Regions from separate parts of the Homo sapiens genome. Here all the other regions are linked to region 2. The links are contacts of gene promoters, found by promoter capture Hi-C in blood cells and fetal thymus (Javierre and others, 2016). All regions are on one chromosome and are shown on one strand. Each heading gives the region's core, a stretch centred on a gene start or on the middle of the fragment in contact. The rest is flanking DNA. Distances are from core to core; before and after follow the strand shown. Region 1 overlaps LINC01677 (long intergenic non-protein coding RNA 1677). Region 2 holds the start of NTNG1 (netrin G1). Region 3 has its middle 8.6 kb from the start of LINC01677. Region 4 has its middle 90 kb from the start of LINC01676. Region 5 overlaps LOC105378885 (a long non-coding RNA gene).

Region 1 (2,777 bases), core at 82-2,581, 1.1 Mb before region 2:
CCTTGATCATTAGACTAATTGACAAATAAAAGAGTCAATTACTTGCCCAATTTTTGGAATCTGGGAAGGGGAAGCCTTACTTATCCATCTAGTTTTCAGGTATTCCTCTTCCTTAACTCAGCCTTGTTAAGCTTCTTCCAAGTCCGTGTGCCAGGCAGAAAGTAACAGTGATTACTGAAAACACTTTAAAAGAGATAGGTCTTATACTCTATTAAGGGACAGCTTACTGCCCAGAAAATATAAGTAGCCAATTTGCTTGTTACATACAAGAATCAATTAAACTAAAACATAAACATAAAGTAAAATCTCAATAGATATAAATGCATATGAACAATTTAAGATGAAGAATTTAACAAAAAAAAACATAAACAGAAGAAAATGTGTTTATCCTCACCAGTAACCAAATAATAACAAGAGTTAGGTTAATCTCCCACCTGATAAATTAACTAATTAAATTATTACTGAGTATTATTATTGATAATACTTGATGGCCAGGTGCTGTGGCTCACACCTGTAATCCCATCAATGAGAGGCTGAGGTGGGCGGATCTCTTGAGGTCAAGAGTTTGAGACAAGCCTGGCCAATATGACAAAACCCTGACTCTACTAAAAATAAAAAAATTAGACGGGTGTGTTGGCACGCACCTGTAGTCCCAGCTACTCGAGAGGCTGAGATCAGAGAATTGTTTGAACCTGGGAGGTGGAGGCTGCAGTGAGCTGAGCTGAATTCACACCACTGCACTCCAGCCTGGGTGGCAGAGTGAGGCTCCGTCTGCTTAAATAAATAAATAAATAAAATAATAATGCTTGATGGCAAAAATGCGATGAGTGTTGTATATCTGTTACTATTGGGAGCATTCAGCCCTTCACTTATTTAAGTCATTTACTGATCACATACAAAGTGTAATAAGCCATGATGACACATCAGTGAACAAGAAGAAAAGGTTTCTGCTTTCATGGAAAATATGGTTAATCAAGGAAATATTAAACAAATACTTACATGAAAATAATTATCAAAATTCTTGCAATCTTAAAATAAATATCTTGCCTATTTGAATTCAAGGAAGTTTAGAATTTGAAAATTTATTGCTGAAATTGAATTGCCTCACAATCACACATGGAATATGTTTATAACTCATAAGTTTTCCTCTTTCTTCAGCTGTAACTGATATTGATTAATTAATTGATTAATGAAGGTATTTGAGGTATCTTGATTGCTCCAAAATAATTTAAGGAATAATCAAAGTTACATACAGAACAATACTTATTGTCTAAATATTTTAAATACTCTAATATTCTTTTCTGTTGTCCCTTTAGATTCAAAGACAATTCAAGTAAATTATCAGGCATAGAAAGGAACAGAACAGGCTACAGAGTTTCTTAGAGACATAGTTTAATTCATGATTTTTTACCTTGATTTCTTTCAATGTTTTATAGCATTCTCTAGGAAACATATTTTTAAAACTAGAAAGCTCCACTCACTATTAATTTTCAGTGTTGGGGACCTAACAAATCTATGACTTGGTAGCCTATTGTTACAGGCCATATGTTGCTGTGTGTATGGTAACAGCACTCACTCTGAGGTCAAGGAACTTTGTATTAAAATCTCAACTCTCACATTTTTTTGTGACATTAACCAAAACAACTTTTTAAACTCAGTTTATTTTCATTTATATGGTAACAATAATAGTAATGTAGATTACGTCAGGGCAGGTATTATTCTTTTGTTTATTGCTGTATAATTAGTGCCTAAAACAGTTTATGGCAGCTAGTACCATGCCAATTAAATATTTTGGAATAAAATAATCAACCAATTAATGAACAACATACTCTAACTCAAAATATTCATGTGAAGATTAAACTGTAATGTCACTAAATCATTAGGCATTATTCTGATCCAACATTCCACTTCCTTTATGGCCTTTGAATTTACAGAATATATTTCATGTTCCTGGATGTTTCACTCTGCATTAGTAAAGGGTATGTAGAGAAGTTAATTAGGTTTGTTGATGTGATTGTGTAAATACCAATTCCAAATTTTTATCAAAAATATGAAATGACAAGACAACTCTAATTACAGTAATTCACTTACATGTTATACTGGATTGAGAGCTAAAGAAGAAGAGCACAATGAAGTTTCTTATAGTGATTTCAAAGCACAAAAATGAAAGCATTTGTAACTCGTATTATCTGGGGAAATCTATTATACTTAACCAAACAATGAGCAAAGTCATCTTCAAAATTAATATGTGATTAATAGAGTCTCTTAAAATAACACATTAATACTCTTAAATTACATATGTATAGTATGAATCACAATAATTCCAATTAATTTTTCTTTAATGTTGTTATTTTTTATACACTGATACATGCCAGACATATTTAGGACCTATATTAGGCTGTTCTCACATTAGACTGCTGTAAGGAAATACCTGAGACTGGGTAATTTCAAAAGAAAAGCGGTTTAATTGGCTCATGGTTCTGTAGGCGGTACAGGAAGCATAGTGGTGTCTGCTTCTAGGGAGACCTCAGGAAGCTTCCAATCACAGTAGAAGGCAAAGGGGGACCAGGTGAGTCAAATGGTGGCAGCAGGAGCAGGAAACGAAGTGGGGAGGTGCCACAAACTTAAAACTATGAGATCTGGAAAGAATCCACTCACTACCACGAGGATAACACAAAGTGGATGGTGCTAAACCATTCATGAGAAATGAGCCCTCATGATTCAATCACCTCTCACCAGACCCACTTCCATCACTGGGTATTACAATTCAACATGAC
Region 2 (2,700 bases), core at 47-2,546:
CTGGAGCATCGGAGCATTTGTCTTTCTCTTAGAAAAGGCAAGGAAGCCTGAAATGCGCAGCTCTCCCTTGAACTTCAACTTTTTAAAGGGGAATGAATTTCTAAAGGAGGAGTTTCCAGTCTAGGGCTGTAGGGGCCTCCGGGCAAAGGAAGTGCTTGTTGAAAAACAACATTGTGATCACTTCCAGCGGCGAAGGGTGTGCTTGGGAACGGTTTGGGGAGGGGACAGAAGAGAGAGGGGTGGGATGGACGGCGGCAGAAGTGGGAGGTACACGAGGAGTTACTGGAAACGGCGCTTCTGTGGAGGAGCCGGGGGGGATGGGGAGTAGAGGGAGGGGGCCCTGTTGCCTCAGCGCCCCGAGGTCGTGGAGCGGCAGCAGCTGCAGCCGGAGCAGCACCAGCAACAGCAACAGCGAGCGGGACGGAGTTAGGACCGCTCGGAGCGCACAGGTCTCGAGGTAGTATAAGGTTTGCTATCCTTCCACTTGCTGGCAGTTGCAGAAGAAGATCTGCTTTTTAAGTGAAACGTACATGCCACCCCTCCGAGGGCTGCGGCTTCCCCGGGCTTGCTTCTTTGCCGCTCCTCTTTCCGGCTCTCGCGCTCACTCTTTAATTGGCACTGGCCCCTAAGTTTGCCAGGAGCTCGCTGCCCGCTCGGAGCAGGGTCCCGGCCGGGAGCCGCTGGTGGGGGCGGGGAGTCCGGGAGCCGCAATCCAGAAGCGTCGTGGGCCATGTATATTTCATCAAACGGACTTTGGGTGCGTCGCGTCTCACTGCCATCAGTGCTATGTGCAGTGACATTTCTGACTTGAGTGGAGGAATGCGCGAAGGAAACCCGGGCGAAATTGGTATTAGAGGATCTTCTTGGCGCCAATGCTAATTGTCCTGATTTATGCCCCTTCTGACTAAGCTCAACGTCTTCATCTGAAATAAAATGAAAGCGGTGCCAAGCGGCATAGAACCGCCTGGCCGCTGGTTCTGATCCCCGGGAACCAGAAAATCGTCCTGCGGCTTGAAAAAAAAAAAAAGAGGAAAAAAAAAAGAAATAGAAATAGAAAAAAGAAAAAATATCCCTCAGTAAAAGTTTAAGGCGAGAAGTGTCAGAGGCAGCGGAGCGAGGAGGCGCGGAGGAGAGCCGGCGAGCAGGGGACTGGGCTGGCACGACCTCCGAAGGCTGAGATCTCATTATTAATATCACTATATTTTTGGAGGGAGAGGCACCTTTCTCATCCTCTCTTCCTCTCCGCCCACCCTTACTCCCTCCCCCTCATCTACCTGTCAAAGTCACTGATCTTTTGCATTTCGGAAGAGGACGTCAACGGGAAGGAATTCCCCCTCTGGGTGCGGGCTCCGAGAGGGGGCGACTTGCAGGAGGCTCCCCCCGGGGGCGGAGGCGAAGGTAATTAAGCGGCGGGGAGTGGCGGGCCGGCGCTGGGTTCTCGGTCCTCGGGGTCCTCTCCCGCCGGCGGCCGGGCGCGATCGGAATCCCCGGGCTGCGGCGGTGGCGGCGGCTCGGGTCCTCACGCCCACCCCTCCCGCTCCGCCCGCTCCCGCCTGGGGAGGAGGCTCCGCGGGAGCTGCCGCCCTCCGCCCGTACGCCGCCCGCGGGCTCCGCTGCTGCGGCCGCCGCCCGAGGCGGACCAGGCTGGCTGCGCAGGGCCGCCGCCCCGCGCCGTCGGCTCGGCTCCCGCCCGGCGCAAGGGCAAACGAGCCACACGGTAAGTGCCTGCGGCTCGCCTCTCCTACTGCGACCCGAGCCTCTCGCCCGTGCCCCTCTCCCCCGGGTTTCCCCACCCCCCGCCGCCCCCCGCCCCACCCGCTGCGATGCACAGGCGGGAGGGAAGGCTCCGGGTGGGCGAGGAACTTTGTAAAGCGCCCCGAGGAGGCAGCGCGCGGAGCCCTACGCGCACACACAGCGGCACACGCTCACACCCACACACAAGTCTTCCCGGGGGTGCGCCCCGGGCCGGTGATGCGTCCTCTTGTTGTGTCCGGAGCCCAGGCGTGGGGTCTGAGCCTCCATCCGCCGACTGACAGGGGCCCCGCGCTCTCCCTCTCTCACGCACACCTGGCCACACACATCGCTCAGGCGGCTTGTCGTTATTTTTTCTTTCTTTCGCCAATTATATTTGTTTGGGGAAAAGCAAACAAAAAAAACAAAAAAACACTTGCCCTATTGCCGGCCTTGGGGATCTGGTGGCCACATCGAGAGCTTTTGAAGTCCCTTCTTTTAATCGCCTTTATTGGTGCTAGATTAAAACATTACTATCCCATGTTGTGCAGCTGGGGAGAAAGGGAAATTGAAAGAGGAAGACTTGGTGTAGGGATGCTGTTTGGAATATTCTCTCATATTCTTTACTGGCATCATATTAATCGGTTGATGGATTCGGCTAGGGACACTGAATTGCACTCCTGTATGGATCTGTGGATATCTATATATAATACAAATAATACTGAATATTATTGGGCCTAAAATAACCAATTAAGTGATTCATACAAGGAAAAACTTAGATATAAAAAGAAACTGCGCCCTCTGCTGTTAATTTTAGTACCCTCACCCGGGGACTTTTTTTTTTTTTCCTTCAGAAATCCACTTAAGAGTAGGCTGTCATCTTACAGGGCAAGGGAAGAAAATTCCTAGCGGGGATTTTAAAGCAACTTTACTTGGAAAAGTCGCAGGTTGAGCTCCTATAGTTGCATC
Region 3 (2,700 bases), core at 92-2,591, 1.1 Mb before region 2:
ATTCATGGCATTCACTTATCTTACCATTTTGCTCATCACCTTGAAATAGCTTTCCTGACAGAACAGTAAAATGTCCTACTGAAGTCTATGCTGGGACACTGTGGTAATGTTACTCAGGCTAAAGTGTAAACTTTAAATCAGTGATTACTCTATGGTTATGTTTTTACCATAGCCAGAATTCACAAGTCCAGAAGTGAAAAGGTGAACAGTGAAGTGTCGTTTCTTACCCACCATTGTGATCCAGAAAGGTTTGCTTCCCATCCCTGCAACTGTGGACTCTGATGGTCTTCTTATTCCTGTTTCTAAAGGAAAAGGATTCTTCCAAAAGATAAACCAATAGTTTTGTTAAGCTTAGAGTTGAAATTTCACATAGATGTTTTGTGCCCTAATGCTAGTGAACCATCAGGGAAAAAAGAACCTTAGAGACAGGTAATTTATTGTGACTCTCAGGAGGTATTGGGGTGCTGCTGCACAATATGGGTGAGAATGGTCAAGTCTGAAATGAAGGAGATCTCATGAAATGCCTCTTAGAGCTCTTATCCTTGCTGATTAGAGTCAACAGACAGCTAATCTGATGGGACAGAACTGCAAATGACCCAGACCATTTAGAAATGAAGTTTCGGGACAACACACCCTACAGGAAATAATGACTATCCAGAAGAATATGGAATGGCTAGTGGAAGAACTTTGGCCCTGACCAGTTAGAGCAATATGCACTGCAATAATTATAAACATTTATTTTTCACTTTCATATTGTCTGTGTATACATGTATCGATGTATTTCCCTCTCCTATTCCCCTATCATATAGCATTGTATGTGTTAGTAGTAGGATTTTTTTATAATTTCAGTGTTTAAGTTTTAATATACAAAACAATATGACTAATTTAAAAGAATAACTTATTTTTGAAAAGCAGCGACCTCTTTTGGGGAGCATGGTTGGCAAGTTTTCAGTTGTACGAGGGGTCATTTCGCCTATTAGGCAAAAGCATGGTTTGTTCTTGTCTTTATTTAGAAGTTATTTGCTTAAAGAAAACTGTGTGGGTTAAATTTTGCCAAAGAGTAGATTTTAGTGAATTTGCATTTTATCAGGTTACCTAAGCTAGGACTACGTTTTCCCTAGTTGTCTTTATTGTGTAGTTTGCTGTTAGTATTGTTACAAGACACATTTGATTGCTTTCCAAAAGGCATAAGAGAATCACCAGCTGTACACTTTTATACTCTGAAACCTGTGCATGGTACCACAATAGCTTTAGAATGTTGTTGTCACTGATCTAGAGCTCACCTTGCTGCTCGTAACATCTGGACCTCTAGCTCCTGCAAATCTTCTTCAAAGTCTCTGAGTCCTAAGCCAAGTGCACATGTAGCTCTGTGGTGAAAGGCAGCAGCTTTCATAACAAGTCTCCAATAGCTTCAAAGTAAGAGGTGGGAGAAGACAGATATTTCATCCTTTTGGGTTCCAATTTGCTACTAATCTTTTTCATATCCAGATTTTATTTTTAATTACTGTCTGGCCAAGCTATAATGACTTTAGATTCAACGCTAGACACAGGAGCATTAGCCAGCCAAAAATGTCCCATCAACTCCCATGGTTGCTTAGAGTCTAACTTTTGTAAATCATTTATTCTATACCCTTCACCTTGGTTCTCCTTTTCTTTGTACCATGACTGTTACAAATGCTACATAGAAAGACAGTGAAAGTTGCAGCTTGAGCTTCAGAAATTTGATTTGTGAAACATTCATTTAAACGTGCTGAAAGTTTAAAAATGACCAGGTTAACTACAGACCTGCTTGGAAGGTATTCCTGCCCCTTGAGAAAAAGTAAGAGGAACAAATGAAATCAGAGTTAGCTGATCGTAACCTATATTTAAAACTAATAACGAAAAAAGGAGAAAAAGTTAAAGAGAAAAACCAAATTTTCACAGTGGAACTGGCTAAATTTTGACTGTAACTACTTTCTGAATGATAGTATATTTCCATCTTCATTTTTTTCTTTGACAGTCTATTATAATTCACTTTTTTTTAGATCATAGAAAAAATTTTAAATCATAATCCACATGTAAAATGTATTTGGAGGGTAACACTTCCAAGTGTGTGTTCTACTTTGCAAAGTGACACTCATGTAACAGAGACTGTGAATAGCTTGGCCAGGCTTCTTTAGATCAACTTATTGAAAAAAAAAAAAATCCCACAATGCATTCCCAGTGCTGTAACCACATTGTTGATACAGATCTCACTGACTTTGTTCTGGTAGCTCCTCTAAATGTTTAGAGACACTGAAATTACCTTTATCTTTCCCAATTGATATTGGCATGTCAGATCTCATTTCAGGAATAAGCTTGACAACTATGTGGCTATATCTGTGGATTTTTTAAATTTAATTCTTTCTTTGTCTCTCTACTTTTCTTTCTCCTTTGTTGGGTCTTTTACTGCAGACTTTTAATAATGCTAAGGAAGAGTTCATTTGCTGCTTTCCATTTCTTTTTTAATTACTTGAAATTTTACACCCTGACACAAAAATTTGTACCATCATTTGAACTCAATGTCTTCATGCATAATCTGAGAAAATTTAAGCAAACAGAAAACAAACAAAAAAAAAACAATAGAAATAATTCAATTTTTAAAATCTCTGCACAGATTTCTTTCTACAAAGAATATTACATTTAAAGATTAGAAATCAGAATATATCAATGTGACCTTGG
Region 4 (2,700 bases), core at 152-2,651, 1.4 Mb before region 2:
GGAGTGCAGTGGCATGATCTCGGCTCACTACATCCTCCGCCTCCCAGGTTCAAGTGATTCTTCTGCCTCAGCCTCCTGAATAGCTGGGACTACAAGCTTGTGCCACACCACACCAGGCTAATTTTTGTATTTTTAGTAGAGAGGGGGTTTCACCATGCTGGCCGGGCTGCTCTTGAGCTCCTGACCTCGTGATCCACCCACCTCGGCACTGTTTTAAAAGTGATTCTCAGCAACTACAACTTTTTTACATTTTAAGAAATTGTTAAAATCCGTCACCTTTGAAACCCCTGAAAGTAACCACTATTGTAGGATACATTGCTGAGAAAAGTTTAGTAAACTCAGGGGCAAGAAATAAGATACAAGAAATGATGAAAAAATAATTTAGTAAATTCATAATTGAAGAAAAATTGGTTTTCTGGATAAAAATGAAACAAGGTGAGTTGTGTACAATTTAAAAATTCTCACCTACAATTGTTACAATTTTGTAGAGGTGAAAATTAAGATTAGAGAAACGCTGTCTTGAAAGTGAATGTAATGATCAAAGGAATAGATGTATAATGCACAACTTTCATAAATAGAAGTGGTCATCAAATGGAATAAAAATAAAATAAATAATTGAATAACAGAAAAAAATAAAAACTGAATGGTTCAGAATGTGTACAGAGAGGAAGAATATAAAACTTAAACCATGATATGGAAAAGAAAAAATAAGAAAACACAATGAATAGAAACATTTCACAAACTACAATGAAGATCAACAGGATGAATTCACCAATTAAATATAGAGTCATCGTTAAAATCAATGTCAATTTATAGTATATGTACCTAAAATGAAACCACACAAATAATGTGTAAGTAGTGACACAAGACATGTACAAATAGCTTCTAGTTCTGCTTACCTTAGGCAATGAACATAAGAAAAAATAATCTATTTTTTATTATTTGAGAGATAGTAATTCATCGCATTTTTAAAGCCTCTGATTCACTAAGAATTTAATTCTATGCTGGTTTCCTAGGATGGAGAGGCCACTGTGTTTGTTTGATTGGCCACCTTGAACTGACAGTGCTTAAATCCTTTATGAAGGACATCTTATTTCATTCAAATAGCATTTTGAGGTTTACTGCTTTCCAGATTTCCTCTCTATTCTCTTTCTCACCTCTCCTCTCATTCTCACTATCCATACTCTTCTCTTTTCTCCACCCCAGTCCTTCTCTCTCTCATCTCTTTCATTTCTTAACATCACCAAAAATCTACAAGATACCAATCAACACAGTAGTCCAATAATTTGATCAAAATCACATAAATCTTTTTTATTTTAAAGTACAGCCTGATTCACAGCCTTAATCTTCTCCCTCTTACAGTATGCAGGGAGGATGTTCTGCAATAATAATATAAAGACAATTGTTTCTCAAGTTGGACATATCATTGCTCTTCATTTGTCATTGTAAATCCAAATTGGCAAATTGTAGTGTGTAATATAGACTACCCAGCTTCTTGGAAATCGTGAAGAACTTTTCTGTATTCAAGGTAATTCAAGGGCTTCCTCTCTTCTGAGTAGTACTAAAAAACATTTATTTAAATATACTATCCAATCACATTCTAGAATACATAATTACATGACACATTTCCTTCAAGCCTACTTATTATTCAAGGTAAAAATTTTCTTAGGAAATCATGAGACTGGGCATGTATCTTAAGCATATTTGTTTCAAGTTCTATGTCTGATTTTTTAATTATTTAAACAATATTTTCTCCTTCTGTTCTTGATTTCTCATTTAATCTTTTAGTTTAAATATCATTTGTTTTTACATCATTGTAATATACATAAAGCCTGTTTTTTTCTTTAACAAAGAAGAAATTAGCAATGCAATAAACCAAATTCTAAGAAAGACCCTTAGTTTATAATTCTTCTACAGTTAACATCACCCCAAGGATCTATAACTAACGTTAATTAATATTAAGCTATATCTAGGTCTAACTGTTCTAATAATAATAGTTAATACTTATTGGGAGCACATTTTATGCCAGGCACCTTGCCAAGCACTTTACATGTATTAATCTAATTTAATCATCATATTACTTTTAGGTATTATTAGTATCCTTCTTTCCAAGATGTGAAAATGGAGCAGAGAGATTAACTAATTTACTTCAGGTCACCTAAGAAGATTTATGTTATCTTAGTAATATAAATCAGCATACTATTTAGTATATCCAAGTGTAACAAATATAATATACACTAATGTTAGGAGGACAACTCTAACCCTTATCATATATAATTTTGGGAGATAATTTTACCATAAAAAGAAATAGAATCATGAATGTGCATTTAAAGATCAAATTAAAAGACATTTCTCAGACTAATGCTCTTTGAAGTAATTTTGTTATTCTTTAGTTAAAAATTCTAATTATAAAACTAAGACATCTAATATTAAGTTCAACAATCTAGAAAATAAAAAAGCAATTACATCAAAAATGAATATATACAATGCCTTTTTCAAAAGCAGAATAAATATATACCATAGAAATTATTTTTGTACTAAGGAAAGAATAAAATAAATTTCATGGTATGCCACAGAATCAAACAAATTGTTTCAGTCTGCTGAAGATTGTATTGCTTAAGGTGAAATATTCTATTTTTTGAGAATCTACATTAGAATTTTGTCATAAAGTACAAGAAAACAGAGTTCAGTCAAAGTCTA
Region 5 (2,700 bases), core at 122-2,621, 1.1 Mb before region 2:
CATATAAACCAATGTAACATAATAGCCCAGAAATAAATCCATGCATTTACAGTCAATTCATTTTCAACAAAGTTGTCAAAAGCACACAATGAGGAAGGGAGAATACCTTCAATAAATGGTACTGGGAGCTGGCTGGGTGCAGTGGCTCACGCCTGTAATCCCAAGACTTTGGCAGGCCAAGGCAGGCAGATCACAATGTCAAGAGATCAAGACCATTCTGGCCAACATGGTGAAACCCCATCTCCACTAAAAATATAAAAAATTAGCTGGGCATGGTGGCTCGTGCCTGTAGTCCCAGCTACTCAGGATGCTGAAGCAGGATAATTGCTTGAACCCAGGAGGCAGAGGTTGCAGTGAGCCAAGATCGCGCCACTGCACTCCCAGCTGGTGACAGAGCAAGACTCCATCTCAATAAATGAATAAATAAATTAATTAATTAATAAATGGTACTGGGAAAACTGAATAACCATGTGGAGAAGAATGAAATTAGATTTCTACTGTAGGCAATATAAAGAAATCAACTTAAAATGGATTAAAGACTTAAATGTACTACCTGAAACTGTGAACCACTAGAAGAAAACAGGGAAAAAGCTTCATGACTTTGGTTTGGACAACTGTCTTTTGGATATGACCCCTCAAAACACAGATAGCGGAAGCAAAAAAAAACAAAAAAAATACATGAATGGAATTACATTAAACTGAAAAGCTTCTGTATAATAATAAAAACAATTGACAAAGTGAAAAGACAATCTAGAGAATGAGAGAAAAATATTTGCAAATTGTGTGTCTGGTAAGGGGTAAATATCCAAAATATCTGAAGAACTCAAACAACTGAACAGCAAGAAAACAAATAGCCCAATTAAAAATGGGCAAAAGACCTGAAGAAACATTTCTGAAAAGCCATATAAATTGCCAATAAGTACATGAAAAATGCTCAACATCGCTAATCGTGAGGGATATGTAAATTAAAACCATGAGATATTACCTCACACATGTTATTGTCAAAAAGACAACAGCTAACAAGTGTTGGTAAGGATGTGAAGAAAGAGGAACTCTTATACACTGCTGGTGGGATATTAAGTTCCATAGTCACAGACACAAGTAAGGAGGTTTCTCAAAAAAAATAAAAATAAAAATAGAGCTTCCAAATGATCCAGCAATGCTGTTACTGGGTATATATCCAAAGGAAATGAAATCAGTGTGTCATAGAGGTATCTGCACTCCCATGTTTATTGCAACACTATTCACAATAGCTAAGCTGTGAAATCAACCTAAGAGTCCATCAAGTGATGAACAGATATAGAAACTGATATATCTCTTATCATTCAAGATTATTCAAGGCTTTCTCTTTTCTTAGACATCTCTGTTAGTCACAAATTACTTCATGTATTGAAAATACATTGTTGTCTAATTAAAAGTTTTAAAATCAACCAATCAGCATAGGATGATTTTGTTTGCCTAATGGAAAAACTATTAGAATTTAAAAAATCAAAACAACATAGATAACTGGTTCTGAAATATGTGTATCCAAAAATTATGTGAGGATCCTTTTAATATGTAGATGATTATGATTCATGAGTCCTTGTGGATGGGTCCAGAAATTTTGTATTTGAATAACAGGCAACAACTCAGTGCCCATTCAGAAATTTTAGTTTAACTGAGGAAGAGGGTCAAGCAAGCCCAGAATTAAGCAGGAAAGGGCCAGAGTTTTATCTGTATAAAGGCATATTGAACAAGGTGCGATCCAGAATATCATTGGCATGATGAGGACGAATGTTCTCAGTGAAGTTGACTAAAGCAAGAACTGCAGCTCTGGCAAACTAGTAACAAGCCAGGGACCTGGCAAACCAAGAAGCAGAAAAACCTATACTAGACAGATAAAAAGTGAGCAGTTGATCCCAGGAGAGACTGTGCTTTTGAAAATCAATAAAAAATAGATGTATTGTTATTCATTATGATGATGATGATTATTATTATTAATTTTTTCTAATCTGGAGACTATCAAGTAAATGGACGCATCTCTTTCCACATATTCCTAAGCTTATTCATTGTCTCTTTTTATTTCCTCCTTCATTGAATATTTAATCAAAATTGCTACTAAATCTTTTTTGTCACTGACATTTTAGCTAGACTGCAATCATCTGTCAAGAATTACAATTTTAGTTCATTTCTTTGTGTCATGCATGTATAGCTTAGCTCCTGGCATACAATTTAAAACTTTATTTCTTTATATGTGCTTAAGAACATTATCAGAAAACTGCACTTTTTTCCTCTAGCTCAGCTCTTAGGAATCCCTAGAATTAAAAACTAATCATCTAAAATCATCAAGACCACTTGTACTTATTGAAGGCCATATGAATTATGTACCTGACTGTGAGCCTAACGTATTTTGATTATTTGGAGTAAATATATTACTGGTTCTTTCTCCCACTGTGAAAATTGTCCTAAAATACAAAGCTAAAGCTATTCTTTGTAAAATAGTTATTTTCATATATTCATGCATATGGAAACATTCTTTTCATAGAGTTGTTCAACACTGTATGAAAATGTCTTTCTAATAATATCATCAAAGGCAACAATAACTTGTTCTGAATATGAAAAGTTTAAGCTCATATTAATGGTTAATAAATAACATATTTCCTTACAAAGTTTTACATTTATTAGCATCTATACTTATCATTTTTGGCAATTCAAAAATGT

The links. Contacts are between HindIII fragments. The CHiCAGO score rates a contact against its expected background, and 5 or more counts as called.
Region 1: a contact is called between a fragment that was not itself captured here and the fragment with the promoter of NTNG1 in region 2, in 2 of 17 cell types (endothelial precursors and M2 macrophages). The highest score is 10.4, in endothelial precursors.
Region 3: a fragment that was not itself captured here is called in contact with the fragment with the promoter of NTNG1 in region 2 in 2 of 17 cell types (endothelial precursors and M2 macrophages); the score reaches 8.9 in endothelial precursors.
Region 4: a fragment that was not itself captured here is called in contact with the fragment with the promoter of NTNG1 in region 2 in 1 of 17 cell types (total B cells); the score reaches 7.8 in total B cells.
Region 5: a contact is called between a fragment that was not itself captured here and the fragment with the promoter of NTNG1 in region 2, in 1 of 17 cell types (endothelial precursors). The highest score is 6.0, in endothelial precursors.

What each region holds. Positions count from the first base shown.
Region 1 is chr1:106,010,534-106,013,310 of GRCh38, forward strand. All of the region lies in intron 3 of LINC01677 (long intergenic non-protein coding RNA 1677), which reads right to left. Among named protein-coding and RNA genes, the nearest start is that of LINC01677, 16 kb to the right of the region's middle. The HindIII fragment of the contact is 2,404 bases long and covers 130-2,533 here.
Region 2 is chr1:107,139,743-107,142,442 of GRCh38, forward strand. NTNG1 (netrin G1) reads left to right here and starts at 1,297. Exons shown (of 8, transcript NM_001113226.3): 1 at 1,297-1,398. RefSeq lists an enhancer at 937-1,468 and silencers at 1,402-1,691, 1,712-1,991. The HindIII fragment of the contact is 6,022 bases long and covers 1-2,700 here.
Region 3 is chr1:106,035,468-106,038,167 of GRCh38, forward strand. No RefSeq gene overlaps it. Among named protein-coding and RNA genes, the nearest start is that of LINC01677, 8.6 kb to the left of the region's middle. The HindIII fragment of the contact is 1,986 bases long and covers 349-2,334 here.
Region 4 is chr1:105,707,846-105,710,545 of GRCh38, forward strand. No RefSeq gene overlaps it. Among named protein-coding and RNA genes, the nearest start is that of LINC01676, 90 kb to the left of the region's middle. The HindIII fragment of the contact is 2,614 bases long and covers 95-2,700 here.
Region 5 is chr1:106,065,538-106,068,237 of GRCh38, forward strand. All of the region lies in intron 1 of LOC105378885 (a long non-coding RNA gene), which reads right to left. Among named protein-coding and RNA genes, the nearest start is that of LINC01677, 39 kb to the left of the region's middle. The HindIII fragment of the contact is 1,334 bases long and covers 705-2,038 here.